2 separate regions of the Homo sapiens genome follow, and region 2 is linked to region 1. The links are contacts of gene promoters, found by promoter capture Hi-C in blood cells and fetal thymus (Javierre and others, 2016). All regions are on one chromosome and are shown on one strand. Each heading gives the region's core, a stretch centred on a gene start or on the middle of the fragment in contact. The rest is flanking DNA. Distances are from core to core; before and after follow the strand shown.

Region 1 (5,385 bases), core at 1,326-3,825:
TAATAAATTGCAACTGTGAGTATTAAAGTTATTTAAAAATTGCTAAAGGTGTTTTTCTTAAAAAATAGTTGCTACAGTCATAAAAACCAAAGCATTTACAAGATTGACTGAGTGGCTCACTGCTGAAGCTGTAAAGGGTATGCGAGGGTTCACTATACTGTCTACTTTTCTATATCTTTGAAACTTTTAATAATATAAAGTTTCAAAGAAAGTACTCACCAAAATTGTGTGTTTAAAATATGAGATCTGTAATACTGGGTTCCTGCTCCTAAAACCATATAATCCAGTTGGCGATGCAACAGAAGCAAATGGAAAAGCATATGAGAAAGTGTCCAAATCATGAAAGGAAGAAAGGAGAGGTCCCTATGGACTCTAGCAATTCATAAAATTTATATGAGAAGTGTACAGCTTAAAAAGGTAGGGTAAGGATTAAATAGCAGGAAAGAAATTGCTTTGGGAAAGGTAAAGAATGAGGAAAGAGCTAGACCAGTGGTTCTCAATTGGGGGCAATTTTGCCCCCCAGCAACATTTGGGACTATCTGGAGATACTTTATGTTGGCATAAATGGATTGGGGGGATGCTACCGGCATCTCAGGGGTAAGGGACAGGGATGCTCTAAACATCCTACAGTGCACAGGTCAGCATCCCACAGCAAAGAATAATCTAGCCTGAAAAGTCAAGAGTGCAGCCATTGAGAAATCCTGAGCTAGATGCACAGACTATATTTGGCAGGTGGGTTATTCTTGAAGTCTACAGCTTCAAGAGCTTCCTAAACCCCTTTTCAAATGTAGGCTAAGTTGAGAGTCTGGTCTGGGGAAAGGGTCCACAGCTTTTATCTGATTCTTAAAAAGATCCGTGGCCGAAAGAGGCTGAAGAACCAGGAAAACCAAGGGGTCAGGGACCTTGGCTGAAACAGATTATTTCACTCAGAAAATTATCAGGAGGTGAGGCTGGGTCTGTTTGCTGGAGCCAGATTATAGTAAATCTTGAAAACCAGGCAGAGATAGTTGGACATCAACCTGAGGTCTCTGTGGAGGCACAGAAGACCTATTAGGAAGATAATGGCAGGACAAAAACTGTGTCACAATATGAATGTCTTGAAGTGGCTTCTCTACTTCAACTGCCCAAGTTCCCTTCAATCAGGCTGCAAAACTTAGTATTCTTATGGAGTGGACTAAACTATATCCAATCAGTCACCAATCCATATTAATTTTTTTTCTCAAAAATATATTTTAGTCTTTCTTTCCCCGCTTATCAGGGTCAACACCCTATTCTAGGCCCAGCTCATCTTAATCTTGGACAACTGCAAAACCTTCCTTAGTGAGTCCTTGGCTTATTCATCTTTGCAAATTGAGCACTGGATATACTTCCTGGCATGTGGCAGCCATTCCGTAAGGTACACTCTCAAGTGAGGGTGGGAGGAGAAGGTTGTAGAATCCCCCCAAGTTACAGTGAAAACAAATTACAGAGTGATTTCTCATTAGTCCCATTATGGGGAACATGCCTCATCCACGTTCTTAATGAGGCTCCAGTAAGTCTGTAGACTGTTTGGGGCTGAGGGTGGGGCATTGGTGTGAAGCAGAAGTGGTGCTTCACAGTAAGTGTTGGGATAAATCCAACAAGCTGAGTTCCCCAGGGACTGTGTCTTCCACCTTCCCCGCAGCCACAGGAAGGTAATCACGGATAATCAGCCTGAGAAAGAGGATATGAGAGTTTTTTGAAGTCTACAAACCTGTTATTTGCCGATTCCAAACTCATTTCTTACCAGACTATCCTCAGGCTAAATTTCCTTAAATACCAAGTTTCGATTATCACTTTTCACACTTAAACTCTCAATAAGTCCCAACTCTAAATCTAAATTGTGCAGCTAATTTTTCTTGGCCGAGCACGGTGGCTCACGCCTGTAATCCCAGCACTTTGAGAGGCCGAGGCGGGCGGAGCACGAGGTCGGGAGATCGAGACCATCCTGGCTAACATGGTGAAACCCCGTCTCTACTAAAAGTACAAAAAAAAAAAAAAAATGCCGGGCGTGGTGCGGACGCCTGTAGTCCCAGCTACTCCGGAGGCTGAGGCAGGAGAATGGCGTGAACCCGGGAGGCGGAGCTGGCAGTGAGCCGAGATCGCACCACTGCACTCCAGCCTGGGCGACAGAACGAGACTCCGTCTCAAATAAATAAATAAATAAATAAATAAATAAATAAAAATAAATATATTTACTCTTCAATTTGGTCAATAAATAAACACGAGAGGGTACGAGAAATTACTTAAAAAAAAAAAATCCCCGCAGAATCCAACAATCTCTGAAGCCTTTAACACCTAACAACCCCAAGGGGAGTATTTCGGCTCTTGGACTGTATTTCAAAGCGATTGGACCCCAGACCATTCCCCCAGTTACTCAAAAGATCCAGCCTCTCCTCAGGTGTAGCCCGCTCTAGAAAGGCCGCCTCGGGAGTACCACCCACTCCTGACGGGGCGGGGAGTTCTCTCCGACCCCACCCGTTCCAAGGACGCAGCCCTGTGATTGGCCATGACGCGTGCCAGAGCTGCCCAGTCGCGGAAGAGCAGCTGTTTTGGCGTCTGTTTGCTGCGGTAGGAACATGGCGGATCGGCTCACGCAGCTTCAGGACGCTGTGAATTCGGTGAGGAATTTCATTCGATTAGCCTCTGTCTTTCTCTTTCTTGAGGTAAAGCAAGGGAGGAAAGGGGCCCAAGAGGCAAAACTTGAAAGTGGGGAGCGGACTGAGAGACAGGGCTTCGGCATAAAGCGCTCTCTCGGGAGGCGCCACCGCGAACTCGGAGGTTTGAGGCCGGCTGCCGGGCGGTGCTTGAAGGTGCGGGAGGGAGCAGACTCTTTCGCTTGAGGAGACCGGGAAGATCGTTCTTGTCCGGGTGAGGCCGCCAGGACTTGTGGGCTGCGCGGTCCTGTCGTGTTCCCTGAGGACAGTTTTATTTTCTTGTCAGTGGTGCTTACGGGTTCTCTTTCTTTTGGGGGTTGGGAGGAGAAGCAGGAGCTTTTTTCTTTCCTCATCAATTTTAATCCACCAAGGGAGATCTCATGCTCTGGATGACTGGGTTTTTGTAATGAAATGTCAGCCGAGAGTATTCCTTCACCAGCGCTTTCAGGTTGGTGCGGGAGCGATGCTGAGGTGAGGTGAGAGATTTTCTTTCATCTTAGCTCGTTCCTTTGGGCCCAGAGTATCCTTCCATCTCTTGCCTCTTGGCCATCCCTCAGAATACATCAGTTTGGGGACATCTTTATGATAGGAAATCTTCTAATCCTCGTATGTCTTTCCGCTTATTTGAGTCTTTTTTCTTTTCTTTTTTTTTTTTTTTTTACTTTGGAGACAGTGCCTTTCGCCCAGGCTGGAGTGCAGTGGCGCGATCTCTGCTCACTGCATCCTCCGCCTCCCGGGTTCAAGCGATTCTCCTGTCTGAGCCAAAGTAGCTGGGATTACAGGCGCCCTCCACCACGCCCGGCTAATGTTTGTATTTTTAGTAGAGACGGGGTTTCACCATGTTGTCCAGGCTGGTCTCAAACTCCCGGCCTCAAGCGATCCTCCCGCCTCGGCCTCCCATAGTGCTGGGATTACAGGTGTGAGCCACCGTGCCCGGCCTACAAGTCCTTTTTAATGTCTCCCCCAAATTCTACTCTCTATTAAAGGCCAAGTCTAGTAAGTAGCTCCCCAGCTTTGTTCCTTCTGGTTATTTTTCCTCCACACTATGCCTGAGTGGAAAGTAGAAGCAAAGCCAGAGGATGCGCAGTCATGGGCCCCTAATGAAGGGGTCATGTTCTGAGAAATGCATGGTTTTGGCGATAACTTTTTTTTTTGTTTTAATAAGTAGAAGTACAATGTAAAATAACGATAAAACAGTAATACATAAACCAGTAACAAAGTCATTTAGTATCATTATCAAGTGTCATGGACTGCACATAATTGTATGTGCTATGCTTTCATACACTGGCAGTGTGGTAGGTTGATTTACAGCAGCATCACCACAAGCACTAAGGAACGCATTGCGCTACAGCGTTAGTACTGCTACGATGTCACTAGGCAATAAGAATTTTTCAGCTTTATTATAACCATAGGGGACTGACATAATATGTGCATCCCGTTGACCAAGACGTCAGTGGGTATTCCCATGCGGCAATGGGTGTACTTATTACCATTACGAGTTAGATTGTTTTCTGCTAAATAGTTTTCCATTGATAGTTATGTTTCTCATTGTCTGATTGTGATTTAATGTCCTAGATAAGGGGCTAGAGAGAAAACATGCTGATAGGAAAACCTAAGTACCTGGTTTCCTTGCCAGTTTTTTTTTTCCTCACTGTAAGCTAATAACTTGGCATTTTTCTTAATACATCAGAATTTGTACACTTGAAGAGTGTGAATCTACTTGTGATAAAACTGATCTACCCTGGGTGAATAACACTAGTTTTTAAGCTGAGAGGACCAGCCTCTAAGTGTTGAATTCACCAAGATAAATTCTACCCTGCAGGGACTTGCCTGGGCTGCCAGCCAGCCTTCCTCAGGGAACTACTCCTTTGAGGTTTTACGAAATCAAATTGTAATGATGCTGCTGGATAGAAATCTTATTTTAGGGAAAATTTTGCATATTCATACATGTCTTGTAACTAGAAGGATAATAAGGACAGAGTGAATATGGCCTTAACTCCAGGTTAGGCATAATGATAATTGGATTTTGGAGAAAAGCCTTTAGGATAACTAGTATGAGTGCCTACTGTGTGTAAGCACCATCATGTTTACAAAGAGATACTCCTAAAGGAGGTTAAAAAATGTCAAATACTCAGGAGACATTTAAGTGATGGAAAAACAGTATGTGGTTAGGGAGTTATAATGAATTGAGTATTTTCAGCTTCAGGTTCTGATGTAAATTGGAATATGGAGTGATGTGAACCAAAATAGGGGGAATCTTCTTAGCATTTATCCTAATCAGAATTATTTGTATAACTTTTAACATTTGTTCTACCCTCTGAAAACCGTGAGTGCAGAAGCTATGTCGCATTCACTATGTCTCTGTAGTGTTTATATGCAGTACTTTAGTTATTTTCCATAAATTTTTGTTGACTAAATGGATCTTAAAAGCTTTTGAAGGATGGAAAAGATAGACACTGTGTTGAATATTTTTTTGTGTGTGTTTCCTCTATTACAACAATGCTATAATAGGAGAATGTATCCAATTTAAAAATGAAAAATGCTGCTTGGATTAATAGAGCTAGGATCAGGATCTAGGTTTGTATAGCATCTGAGCACTTATTGCTCCATTACAATTAGCAAAACCTGGGCAAAGCCATTTAGTCATAAGTGACTTTATGACTAGTTAGATAAATATGAAGGAGTAGTGGAAAACGAGTCAGTAGAGTTG
Region 2 (4,994 bases), core at 911-3,410, 130 kb before region 1:
AGCCCTCAGTAATGCAGGATATAGCCATGCCTTCAGAAGTACTGTCTTCAATGACAACATTTCTCAGCAAATGGAGTGGCTCTGTTCCAGTCGACTGGGAAAAATCTGTACATTCACCTGACAGTCTCTTGACACCTACAGCATCAGCAAGGGAGACACTGGCAGCCTCCCATTTTCCCCTTGAGTTCAGTCAAGTACTCCTGTCAAATCAGCTAAGTCAACAGCACCTTCATGAGCATAATCACACATCTGACACTCCTGAAGTTTCTCAACAGATTCATTCATTCATCATTCCTACAGAAATAATTTCAGCTCCTGGCATGAGCATAAATACAAAATTTGTATGGAATAGTACATCTGACTCAACTCTTTTGCCCATGGAAACTGATTGTTTCATCAGCAAACTCGTAGATGAAGGCTCATTGTGTGATGGTGATGTGATTATCAAAACTCAGTCATATTCTAAGGAGACCCCATCATTTACTCAATTACATGACTTATCTGAACTGTCCCTTTCTGAGGTGTCTAAATTTTCAAATGCATTTGAGTTACCTGAAAATATGGGCTCAAAAACTATGATGCATATTCTTAGTGACTGGTTCTGAGGCACAGAACATTTAGCTTTCAGTGGATTCTCAAGAACTAGCCAGATTTTGCCAGGCAATACAGTACTTAACTTGGATTCTACTGACATGTTTATAAGTTACCCACATACCTCCAAAAACGTATTAACAGCAAGATACAGGACTATCTCTGACTTTAATAAGGTACAAGGTAAGATTGTGGGAGTTGTTGAGCTTTCTCTTTGCCATATTTTTCAGAGAATATTTATACTAACAAGCAGCAACCAACTAAATAATTAAAACAGAGTAACCTAGTGGTAACCGTGTGATGAAATTACATGTGCTTGATTTTCTTCTCTACATTTGTCTATATTTTCCAACTTTTTCAAGGAATAGAGTTGTTTTTAGGAAGAAAAAACTTTAAGAATATATCATGTAAGAAAAGTCAACAACAGGCCGGGTGTGGTGTTTCATACCTGTAATCCCAGCACTCTGGGAGGCCAAGGCAGGAGGATCACCTGAGGTCAGGAGTTTGAGACCAGCCCGGCCAACATGGTGAAACCCCGTCTCTACTAAAAGTACAAAAAATTAGCCAGGCGTGGTGGCAGGTGCCTGTAATCCCAGCTACTCCGGAGGATCAGGCAAGAGAATCGCTTGAACCCGGGAGGCAGAGGTTGCAGTGAGCTGAGATCGCGCCATTGCACTCTAACCTGGGCAACAAGTGCGAAACTCCATCTCAAAAAAAAAAAAAAGAAAAGTCAATAACAAAATACAGTACCCATCTTATGCCTTATACACATTATTTAATGTGTATTGTGTTTACAATAGATTGATCAAAGACTCACAAACCTGGAAGGAGCTTCAAGCCATTACTCTGTCCAGTTATTATTATTCCTAAATCATTCATCTGTTGCAGTCTTTATTTTATTTTTGAGACGGAGTTTCGCTCTTGTTGCCCAGGCTGGAGTGCAATGGTGTGATCTTGGCTCACTGCAACCTCTGCCTCCCGGGTTCAAACAATTCTCCTGCCTCAGCTTCCCGAGTAGCTGGAATTACAGGCATCCACCACCAAGCCTGGCTAATTTTTTTTGTATTATTAGTAGAGATGGGGTTTCACCATGTTGGCCAGGGTGGTCTCAAACTCCTGACCTCAGGTGATCCATCTGCCTCGGCCTCCCAGAGTGCTGGGATTATGGCGTGAGCCACCGTGCCTGGCCCTGTTGCAGTCTTACAGACCACCAGAGTTAGAAAAATGCTTGCTAACAGATTCAAACTCTATAACTAAAGTTAAAACCATCCTCTTTCATTTAGTTTATTTATCTCATGATATACTGCAAACAGGCAGTATGATGATTAATAACTCAGTATCTATAGTGAAACGGGTTTGAAATCTAGCTGTATAATTTACTATATGTGTAATATTAGGTATTCACATTAGTATATTACTTCTATCATTTATAAACTGAGGATAATTATTCCAATATATTTGTTGTGAAGATAAAATGAAGTATGTACTTAGCACAGTGCCTGGCACATGGTTCATTAAATGCAAGCTATCATCTCTGCTCATCTTCTCTTCTCTGAACTAGCTAACTCATATCAGAGTGATTGCTTTAGAATTTGTTTCAAATCAAAACATACTTGTATGGTAATTTCCATGGAAATTTTCATTGATCTTTAATTTGGGGGAGATTTCCTTGTTTAAATTAAATGTCTAAATTAAGGGCCAGGTGTGGTGGCACACACCTGAATCCTAGCACTTTGGGAGGCTGAGGCAGGAAGATTGCTTGAGCCCATGAAACTGCGACCAGCCTGGGCAACATAGTGAGAGCCTGTCTCTACAAAAACAAACAAAAATTTAAAAATTAAAAAAAATAGCAGGCGTAGTGGCGCATGACTGTAGTCCCAACTACTCAGGAGGCTGAGGGGGAGGATCACTTGAGCCTGGGAGGTTGAGGCTGCAGTGAGCCATGACTGTGCCACTGCACTCCAGCCTGGGCAACAGAGTGAGACCCTGTCTCAAAAAACAAAAACAAAACAACAACAACAACAAAGGGGTTCCTTTGGAGTAACTACAAAGTTTACAGAAATATTAGACAAGGTACAACCAGTTTGCCTGTCACTAAATATGACTGGCTTCAAGTAACATAGATGCTGAGAACATGTGCTCTGCATTCTGAATCTCAGAAACCTGAGACCACGTCACACCCAGGTAAGCAATTCTATCATCATGGAATGGTAAGGCTGATGGACCTTGATGCTGTTTGAAATTCAGTAGAAACAGATCTCCCTAGTAGTTACGACTTACATTGTTAATCAATCCCATTAAATATGCAACAGTACTTAGATGTCACTTTCAAATAGTCTATTTATCAAGTGACTGCACTACTCTATCTTCTTGATTCATTGAGTTTTTTTCAGTAGCGTGATACTCTTCTTTCCAACTTAATGCTCCCCACAATATCTAAAGCCACCTGCCTTTGTTATATTGCACCATAGCCCCATTTTTGTGATGTTATCTCATCTTCCTCAGAAAACACCAAAATGTATCTATGCAGAGCTTGAAATGTTTTGTAGTTTGAGATTTAAATGTTAATTGAAATTGGAGTACTAGTTTGTTGCTATGATTCTGTTCAATTATGTAACTTACGTGTACCATTATCTAACTTATATGTACTGATCTTAAAACTTTTCCTGGGCCGGGTGCGGTGGCTCACGCCTGTAATCCCAGCACTTTGGGAGGCCGAGGTGGGCAGATCACGAGGTCAGGAGATCGAGACCATCCTGGCTAACACGGTGAAACCCCGTCTCTACTAAAAATACAAAAAAAAAAAAAAAAAATTAGCTGGGCGTGGTGGCGGGCACCTGTAGTCCCAACTACTCGGGAGGCTGAGGCAGGAGAATGGCGTGAACTCGGGAGGCAGAGCTTGCAGTGACCGAGATCATGCCACTGCACTCCAGCCTGGGTGACAGAGCGAGACTCCATCTCAAAAAAAAAAACAAAAAACTTTTCCTGTTCAACTTTCAACCAAAAAACAAAAAAATCAGTTTAAGAATTTAGGCTGTTTGCCAAAATATTGTTTTTCTGAAGTCCCCTAAACCAGATTTGATTAGTTAGTAATACTAATATCTTTGTGTATATGTGTGTGTATATATACATCTTTGTGTGTATATATATATCTTTGTATATATATATATTTGTGTGTGTGTATATATATATAGAGAGAGAGAGACAGAGAGAGGGAGACAGAGAGGAGATCAATAGAAGTGTTCCTACTGCCCTATGCAAAACTAAGGGAGGAAACAAGTTAACCATCAAGACAACCTTAAGCATTTAAATAAAGAGTAGTATTTGTTGAAATTTATTTCTTGTTTGCTTCTTCTAGGTCAACCCAACACATTTCCAACAGTTGTTAATTCAATCCAATTGATAACAGCAACTGTTGGGCACACATTTCATTTCCCGATCCCTCCTGACACATTTTATGACCAGGAAGATGGCAACTCAACTCACTTGACACTTGAAATAAAATCAGTAAATGAGTATCCTTCGGGCCCAGAAAGCTGGCTGCAATTTAACATGACTCATCAAATATTGTATGGGTATCCCCTAGAACTGGATTTCCAATATTCCCCTCAGGAATTTATTCTCTGTGCCACTGATTCCGGGGGTCTGGTTGCTCAGATGCCTTTGACCATTGAACTGAAGCTACCCAGAAGTAGTCCCTGCCACACTTACACTCTGCGCACAAAAAACAGTTTCTACTCATTCATTAAAAGGAGAGAGAGAATTGGTTTATTTTTTGCTAAACTCACTGACTATCTAAACTCTAGTAACCCTGAACAGATCGTATTAATTACCCTGAGACCAGGGTCTACTATCATATCCTGGTATAATAGGGCCTTATGTTTAGTCAACAGCAGTTCTCTGAAATGGTGTCCTAACAAAGAAATCCAGGAAATAATGTTTAAACTAAGGAGGCCTGACGGAAATGTCCATCCAAACTTTGTATATGCTATGCTGCCGGAATACAAAATTGGCACAGTTGAGAACATCACATATAGTGGAATCTGTCTTACTCTGGAGCTAGACAATGGGTTAATTGGAAACAGCATTCTAACCTCATCGAACACAGAAAATAGTCCCTGGATTAGAAATGTTATTCCGGCCTTGCTGGCAAGTACGTGTCTACTAGTTGTGGTAGCAGCAGCAGCAAGTGTAGCTTAGCATTTCTGTAAGAGTCGTCAGACTTTCCTTGTTCCTCAGTCCCTGGTGTTTCAAGGAAGAACCCTAACAAGTAACACTGACCAAGAAATGGATGTGCTAAGGCCCTGAAAGCCACCCATCCTGGAATGTGAAGTTCCACCTTCCCCTCAGTTATGGAGAGGGTTACCACTGTCTTCTCAACATCAAGCTTACAGAGAAAATGT

Evidence for each region. Contacts are between HindIII fragments. The CHiCAGO score rates a contact against its expected background, and 5 or more counts as called.
Region 2: a contact is called between a fragment that was not itself captured here and the fragment with the promoter of MED21 in region 1, in 1 of 17 cell types (neutrophils). The highest score is 5.1, in neutrophils.

The regions. Positions count from the first base shown.
Region 1 is chr12:27,019,983-27,025,367 of GRCh38, forward strand. It overlaps MED21 (mediator complex subunit 21), which reads left to right and starts at 2,576. Exons shown (of 4, transcript NM_004264.5): 1 at 2,576-2,639. The coding sequence starts at 2,598. RefSeq lists an enhancer at 2,608-2,897. The HindIII fragment of the contact is 6,677 bases long and covers 1-5,103 here.
Region 2 is chr12:26,891,725-26,896,718 of GRCh38, forward strand. No RefSeq gene overlaps it. Among named protein-coding and RNA genes, the nearest start is that of INTS13, 44 kb to the right of the region's middle. The HindIII fragment of the contact is 5,632 bases long and covers 1-4,976 here.